Linked DNA regions of Homo sapiens: region 1 is linked to region 2. Evidence: promoter capture Hi-C in 16 types of primary human blood cells and fetal thymus (Javierre and others, 2016). All regions are on one chromosome and are shown on one strand. Each heading gives the region's core, a stretch centred on a gene start or on the middle of the fragment in contact. The rest is flanking DNA. Distances are from core to core; before and after follow the strand shown. Region 1 has its middle 200 kb from the start of ZPLD1. Region 2 holds the start of CEP97 (centrosomal protein 97).

What was found. The method cuts DNA at HindIII sites, captures the fragments that hold promoters and counts their contacts. A CHiCAGO score of 5 or more calls a contact.
Region 1: a contact is called between a fragment that was not itself captured here and the fragment with the promoter of CEP97 in region 2, in 3 of 17 cell types (activated CD4 T cells, non-activated CD4 T cells and monocytes). The highest score is 7.6, in activated CD4 T cells.

Annotation. Positions count from the first base shown.
Region 1 is chr3:102,230,367-102,233,952 of GRCh38, reverse strand. No RefSeq gene overlaps it. Among named protein-coding and RNA genes, the nearest start is that of ZPLD1, 200 kb to the left of the region's middle. The HindIII fragment of the contact is 6,217 bases long and covers 1-3,586 here.
Region 2 is chr3:101,722,643-101,726,105 of GRCh38, reverse strand. CEP97 (centrosomal protein 97) reads right to left here and starts at 1,492. Exons shown (of 11, transcript NM_024548.4): 1 at 1,387-1,492. The coding sequence starts at 1,429. RefSeq lists enhancers at 14-625, 797-866, 1,147-1,516. The HindIII fragment of the contact is 6,095 bases long and covers 1-3,463 here.

The DNA.
Region 1 (3,586 bases), core at 412-2,911, 510 kb before region 2:
TGGGTCCTGACATATATGGACATACTCTTGGATTCCCAGTAATTCTTCTTTTGCTCTTTCCCCTAACAGCATCAACTTTCCTTAGGTCATCTTCACATCCCAGGAGTTTGTGCAGGAAAAATTTCAAAAGCCCCTCTTAGAGTGCATTTCTTTAAAAAATACTTGACTGTTTATTAGTATTCAAACAAACCTAATATCAGCCTTGAGTCCTCAGCTAAGAACAATTTCTTACTGATCTATTTTTGTCACATGAACTTAGAGATGACCTGCAATGCCAAGAAACCTAGAGAGATTGATATTGACCTCTCATGGCAAATATGTACTAGACATGATCCATCACATCTGCCCAATTCAACCCTGTATTAGTCTGGCTGGGCTGCTTTAACAAAGTGCCACAGACTGAGTGGCTTAAACAACAGAAATTTATCTTCTCACAGTTCTGGAAGTCCAAGAGCAAGGTACCAACATTGTTCATATATGATGAGGCCTCTCGTCTTGCAGACAGCACCTTCTCTGTGTGTTCACATGGTCTTTCCTTTTGGCACAGGCACTACTTCTGGTGTCTCTGCCACTTCTTGTGAGAACACCAGTCCTATTGAATTAGGACCTCAAGTTTATGACCTCATTTAACCTTAATTACCTTCTTAAGGGTCCCATCTCCACATACATTGGGATTAGGGCTTCACCATATGAATTCAAGGAGCCAAATTCAGCCCATAATAAACCCACACTTATCAAGAATATAATAAGAGAAGGATATGGTTCTAGACCTAGGAAATGCAGAAATGAATAAGACATTGTCCCTAGACTCAAAAAGTACAGACCTTAATATGGAAAGTCCGTGTGTGTACAATTATGTGGGGTGAAAAGTAAAAATATCGGAATCTAAGAGAGCGCTAAGATGCTAGAGAAGAGAGAGAGCCAGTGGATGCATTTATACAAAGGGTGTAATATAATAATGTGTCCTTTCTAATGATCATTCAAATAACAGTGTGGAAAGTGGACGGGGGTAATGAGACTGGAAGCGAGATGGAAACTTAATAGATTCTTATTAACCCAGAATGGGGAGGGAAGGCTTTAGCTAAACCAATGGAAATATGGTTGAAGACAAGGAGACAGATTTGAAAGACTTTCAAGAAGTAAAGGTAAGAGAATTTGGGGAAATTGATTATTTTTGTCACAAAGGACTTCTGAGAGAGAATTACTTTAATTTTTTAGTTTAACTTTTCTCACTTTACTCATTCATTAGCATTTCCACATCCCCTTAATTTACATCTCTATTAATATCAGTAGCAAATACCTTTAATTTAACATATTCTGACATAACATATTCTGATAATATATTTCTAATATATTCTGATAATCCTTCCCAAGTTTATACAAAATACACTTTAATTTTATATATTTCAACATGTTAGCTATTGTTAGTGGATACAGAGAGTAAAGGCCCAGTAAAAAATTCCCAACAGCTTTAGCTATAAATTACTTAATATACACTTAGAAATTACATCTCAAGTTTAACCTGTAAACTGTAAACTTATCCTACTCTGAAAGCCAAAATTAGTTGGTCATCATTATGTTTTCCTTCTGTGTCATGACACCACCATTCTACTGGGCACCCAGTCAGTTCTATGCCTTAGAATCACCATAGACTTTTCCTCTCCTCTGATTCTCTACGTCGTAAGTTACAGAGACCTGCAAGCCGTCCTTTACCTTCTAAAGTTTAAAATGCCTTCAGTATTCATCCTTTCCTTTTCAACACCAGCAGAATTCTTCCAATGCAATCTGCTTGCAACAACCACGTAGACCTTACAAAGACACAAGTCTGTCAACACACTCAGATTTAAGGCCTCACCTGACTCCCTCAGGCAGAGTTAGCACCTTCTGTTAGAGACTGCATCATAATTACCTGTTTATTTGCCTCCCTCTAACTAGACGGTAAGATCTTTAAGTACAAACCTCATACCTTGTTCGATCAAATCCACACCACACAGTTTCAGATCTTGTGTATACTTTGTTTGTCAGATTAATTAATTGATTAAGAGAGTCCTTGTGCTAATTGAGCTTACATTGGTGATTGCATTAAATATAGTGTTGCATAAGAATATGCTGTTTCCCCTGTTCATGTGTAAAGTACTTGAGCGCCAGGCCAAGGCATCAAATGTATTTATATCTGAGAGAACTTGAGGCAATGCCTTAAATCTACTAGATTTCCTTACTTACGCATTTCCTTACTTACCCTATATGAGTAAGTTTTATTCAGGAGGTCACATAAGGTGGCTATTTCTCAGATCCTCTTCCAAAATGCATTGAGCCGACATGAAGAATTAACTAGTCCCTGAACCCTACAGAACTTCCATCTCTGCTTTGTTTGGGAGCAAAGAGGGAAAAGGGGACTATGGTCATTGTAGGCGATCAGAAACCAAAGTTAAAAACTGAATTTTATAGCCAGAGCCAACTACTACTCTCCTATCTTCTTTGAAATGTTGTCTTGCTCTGGCTTCTAAAAAGCTGATGCCATCAGCTAACTGCCAACTGCCAAGTCATCAGATCATCTCAGAGCCAAAGAGTTAAGCTATGGAGTGAAAAATAAGCCCTGTCCTCACCCCACTCCCACTCCTTTTCTCTAAACTGAAAATGTTTTATTTATATAGGTTGCCTTACTGAAAGAGACACAAGCCATAGGGAACAATATTAAAGCAACTCTTATATTTTATAGGTTGCCTTTGCCTTGTAAGAAGCCATATTTTAACTTGGTACTATTGAAAATACCAGACTAAGTTCATATTCAACAAATGGGATCGAATGGATTGTTCAATGCAGTATCCAAACGGCTCATTCATAACAATGATAGAACATTTATTGAGTGTGTCCCTTGTGTATCAGGTACTAACTGCTTTATACACTTTCTGTCCTTTTGTGCACATTCTAGCATTTACACCTCACAACAATCCTATATGGTTACAAGTATTCCTATTTATGTATTAAAAAGATGAGACTGAGAGGCCCCATATCATGTCCAAGGTTACACAATTAGTGAACTAGGGTAGCTAGAATCAACCAGTTCAGTCTGATTTCTAAACCCATCACCTTACCACTACTCCTACCTAATCTTAACTGAGAAACTCAAATTCAAGGGGTAATTGTCAGTGCGGCCAAAAGGACTCAAAGTCACAGGATAAACATGTTGCATTTTCCTGGAGCAATTTTACTCAATGTCAAAGCAATTAAATGCGTTTTAATATATTAAAACAAGCATAAATACATGTTAGTAGAATGCAAATCTCACAAACATTTTTGAAATAAAATAGAAGGCACCACAAAATTCTCTCTTTGTGAGGCTGGACTGATTCAGGCTTTGTCTCAGACCCTGCCTGGCTCCTTTCCTTCCCTTCTCACTCCCAGGAGTATTTATTTGGTGCTGCACTTTATTAAAAAGCTGGGATGCACCAGGCATGGTGGCTCATGCCTGTAATTCCAGCACTTTGGTAGGCTGAGGTGGGAGGATCACTGTAGGCCAGGACTTTGAGATCAGCCTGAGCAACGTAGTGAGACCCTGTCTCTATAAAAATTGTAAAAATCAGCT
Region 2 (3,463 bases), core at 243-2,742:
AGAAACCATATGAATAGTACTTAGCCCCGTTCCTGCCACCGGGCACTCAATAAGGCACTTTAGTATAACATAGACGTTCAAACCCTGGCTCCACCAATTAACCATTGTGGTATATTAGGCAAATTATTGATTTCTTTTGGGCTCCCTTTTCTACTCTGTAAAGTGGGGATAATACCTGCCTTATAAATGTAGTTCTACAGAGAAAATGAGATAATGTAAAAAAAAAAACAAAAAAAAAAAGGACTGAGAACATCGCCTGGGTCATACAAAGTGCTCTGTAAATGTTAACTGCTATTAACAGTTAAGTAGCCCTGGTGGGCTTGAGAGGTGTGGTTTAAGAAAAGCCGATCTCCAAAGAGGGCGGGGCCAGAGAAACGGCCAATTTCAAATTTACACCCAGATTAGGACTACTGCAGGAAATAATTATGCCAGATTGCTCTCCTGGAGGATTTCAACGTTTTCCCGTTGTCTAATGGCTCTTAGCATGTGAGGAGTCGTGAGCCCCTCTGAAAAATTGATGAAAGGGGTGTGCTGTCTCAGAAAAGTGCACAGCCTTTGTACACAATTCCAAGGGGTCGACAGAGAGGTCTGAGAACCATCCACCAACTCTTCCCCCAAGAATTTACAGCTCCCAGAAAATGCACTCCTGGTCTAAGCCATGAAGACGGGCCTCGACCCCTGGGCCCTGTCCCCGATTTAGAGGACTGACTGCTGCCAAGCCTCGGAGCTGTAACCAAAACAAAAGCAGCTCGCGTCCGGCGCCCCAAAGAGGTAGGTATCTTCAGGCCACAGAAGCACCCACACAGTCCTGTGCTCTACTGGGCAGCGACCAAACTCGATCCTAGGACCCGTGTGCAAGAACAAGGAGTACAGAACTGCGGGCTCTGGATCATCCCTTAGATTTTATCACGGCCACTGGCCACCTCCGAGGAAGGGTTCAAAGCCAGACTAGGCAGCGGTCTCTGAGGGAAGGTTTTCCTGATGGTTCCAGGAACCAAGAAGAGAGGGAGATGTGTGAAGCGAAAGAGGGAGATCCCAAACATTTCGCTTAGGCACCCATGACTCAAAGTAAATGGTCAAGAAAGGTCATCGCAGCCCGAAATCCACCGCCTCCTCAGCATCGGGAGCGCGGGAGCCAGGGCGCCGGGCCGCGCGAAGGCTTCTGGGGGCTGTAGTCCCCCGCTCGGCCCTCACCGCGACGCCGGAGAGCTGGGAACGGCAGGTGAACTACAACTCCCAGAGGGTAGCCCGCCTCCGCGACGACCACAGATCCGCATCAAAAGAACTGGTCCAGAACTGCACATCTAAACCTAGGTTTTCTGCTCTCCACTATTTAATTCAGCTCCGTGAAGTAAACCTTAGGACTCGGGGTAGGGATCGCCTTACCTTCTCCGGGAGGCAAAGCCGCGTCCACGCGCGCCACCGCCATATTTGCTGCTTGCTAATAATACCAGGCAACCGTCCTCCCGCGGCTCTGTGGAGCTTGTAATCTGAAGGAGGGAGCCGGAAACTATAACTCCCAGGATGCACGGCTCCCAGACGGCCCAATTGGCTGCTTACGCCTAATGATGTGAAGCTGGAGTTAGAATCTGAGGGTAGTGAGCTCAGGGACCCTGGCCCACTCGCTTATTTGACAGATGAGTCAACTGCGTTATTAGATGATCATTTCACTTCCTTGTCCAGGCGTTTGCGAAATTTGACACTTTTACCATCGGGATGATTGTAAGGAAGCTACTTAATGCAGACTGCATTTTACAACTCATTGCTGGAAGTCTCTGTGGGGGCTGCTCCATTCTTTTGATAATTGTGAATAAGTTGAAAGTTTTCAACTCCGCTATAGGAATGACCGATCTTGTTGAGATCATAAAAGTGGATACATTTTATTTGAAATTTTAGTTAAGTAAAAGTAAAGTATGCCGAAATAGAAACTTTTATACAGTATTTTTAAGTGATTGTTTGATTGTTCTTGAATATTTGACAAATCTTTTGACTTACGGGTATAAGTATGAACCAAGAACTTTTCCAGGGAGTATTCAAAATAACTTTAAAATATAATCTCCAGGCCGGGCGCAGTGGTTCACGTCTGTAATCCCAGCACTTTGGGAGGTCAACGCAGGCTGATCACCTGAGGTCGGGAATTCGAGACCCGCCTGGCCAACATGGAGAAACCCCGTCTGTAGTAAAAATACAAAAAAATTAGCCTGGCGTGGCGGCGCATGCCTGTAATCCCAGGTACTCGGGAGGCTGAGGCAGGAGAATCGCTTGAACCCGGGAGGCAGAGGTTGCAGTGAGCCGATATCATGCCACTGCACTCCAGCCTGGGCAACAAGAGCGAAACTATGTCTCAAAAATATATATATTTTATATAGATATTGCATATATTATAATTATATATAAATTATATATTATATATGTTATATATTTAGATATTATATATTATATGTTATATATTTAGATATTATATATTATATATGTTATATATTTAGATATTATATATTATATATGTTATATATTTAGATATATTATATATGTCATATATTTATATATTATATATTATATATGTTATATATTTAGATATTATATATTATATATGTCATATATTTAGATATTATATATTATATATGTTATATATTTAGATATTATATATTATATATGTTATATATTTAGATATATATGTTATATGTTATATATTTATATATTATATATGTTATACATTTATATATTATATATGTTATATATTTATATATTATATATTATATATGTTATATATTTATATATTATATATTATATATGTTATATATTTATATATTATATATTATATATGTTATATATTTATATATTATATATTATATATGTTATATATTTATATATTATATATGTTATATGTTATATATTATATATGTTATATATTTATATATTATATGTGTTATATATGTTATATATTATATATTATATATGTTATATATATTATATATTATATATTATATATGTTATATATTATATATTATATATGTTATAGATTTATATATTATATATTATATATGTTATATATTTATATATTATATATTATATATGTTATATATTTATATATAAATATAGATTATGTATATAAATATATTTTTATATAGTCTCCAAATTCAAGAAATACATTGCCTAGTTGGAAGAAAGCAGGCTCACACTTTTTTCTTTTTTTTTTTTTAGAGACAATTTTTTTTTGCCCAGGCTGGCCTTGAACTCCTGAGCTCAAGTGATCCTTCTGCCTCAGCCCGGCAAAGTGCTGGGATTACAAGCGTGAGCAACGGCGCCGAGCCTTCTTTTGATGCAACTATTATATGCTAAACGGTGTGATTGTGACTGAGCTCACTAATATTTCAGGGAATTGAGAAAGAAATAGAATCTGAAATCTTCAGTGAAGACTTGATGGAGGAAGTAAATGTACCCATCTTTTGATGGGTAGACTGAA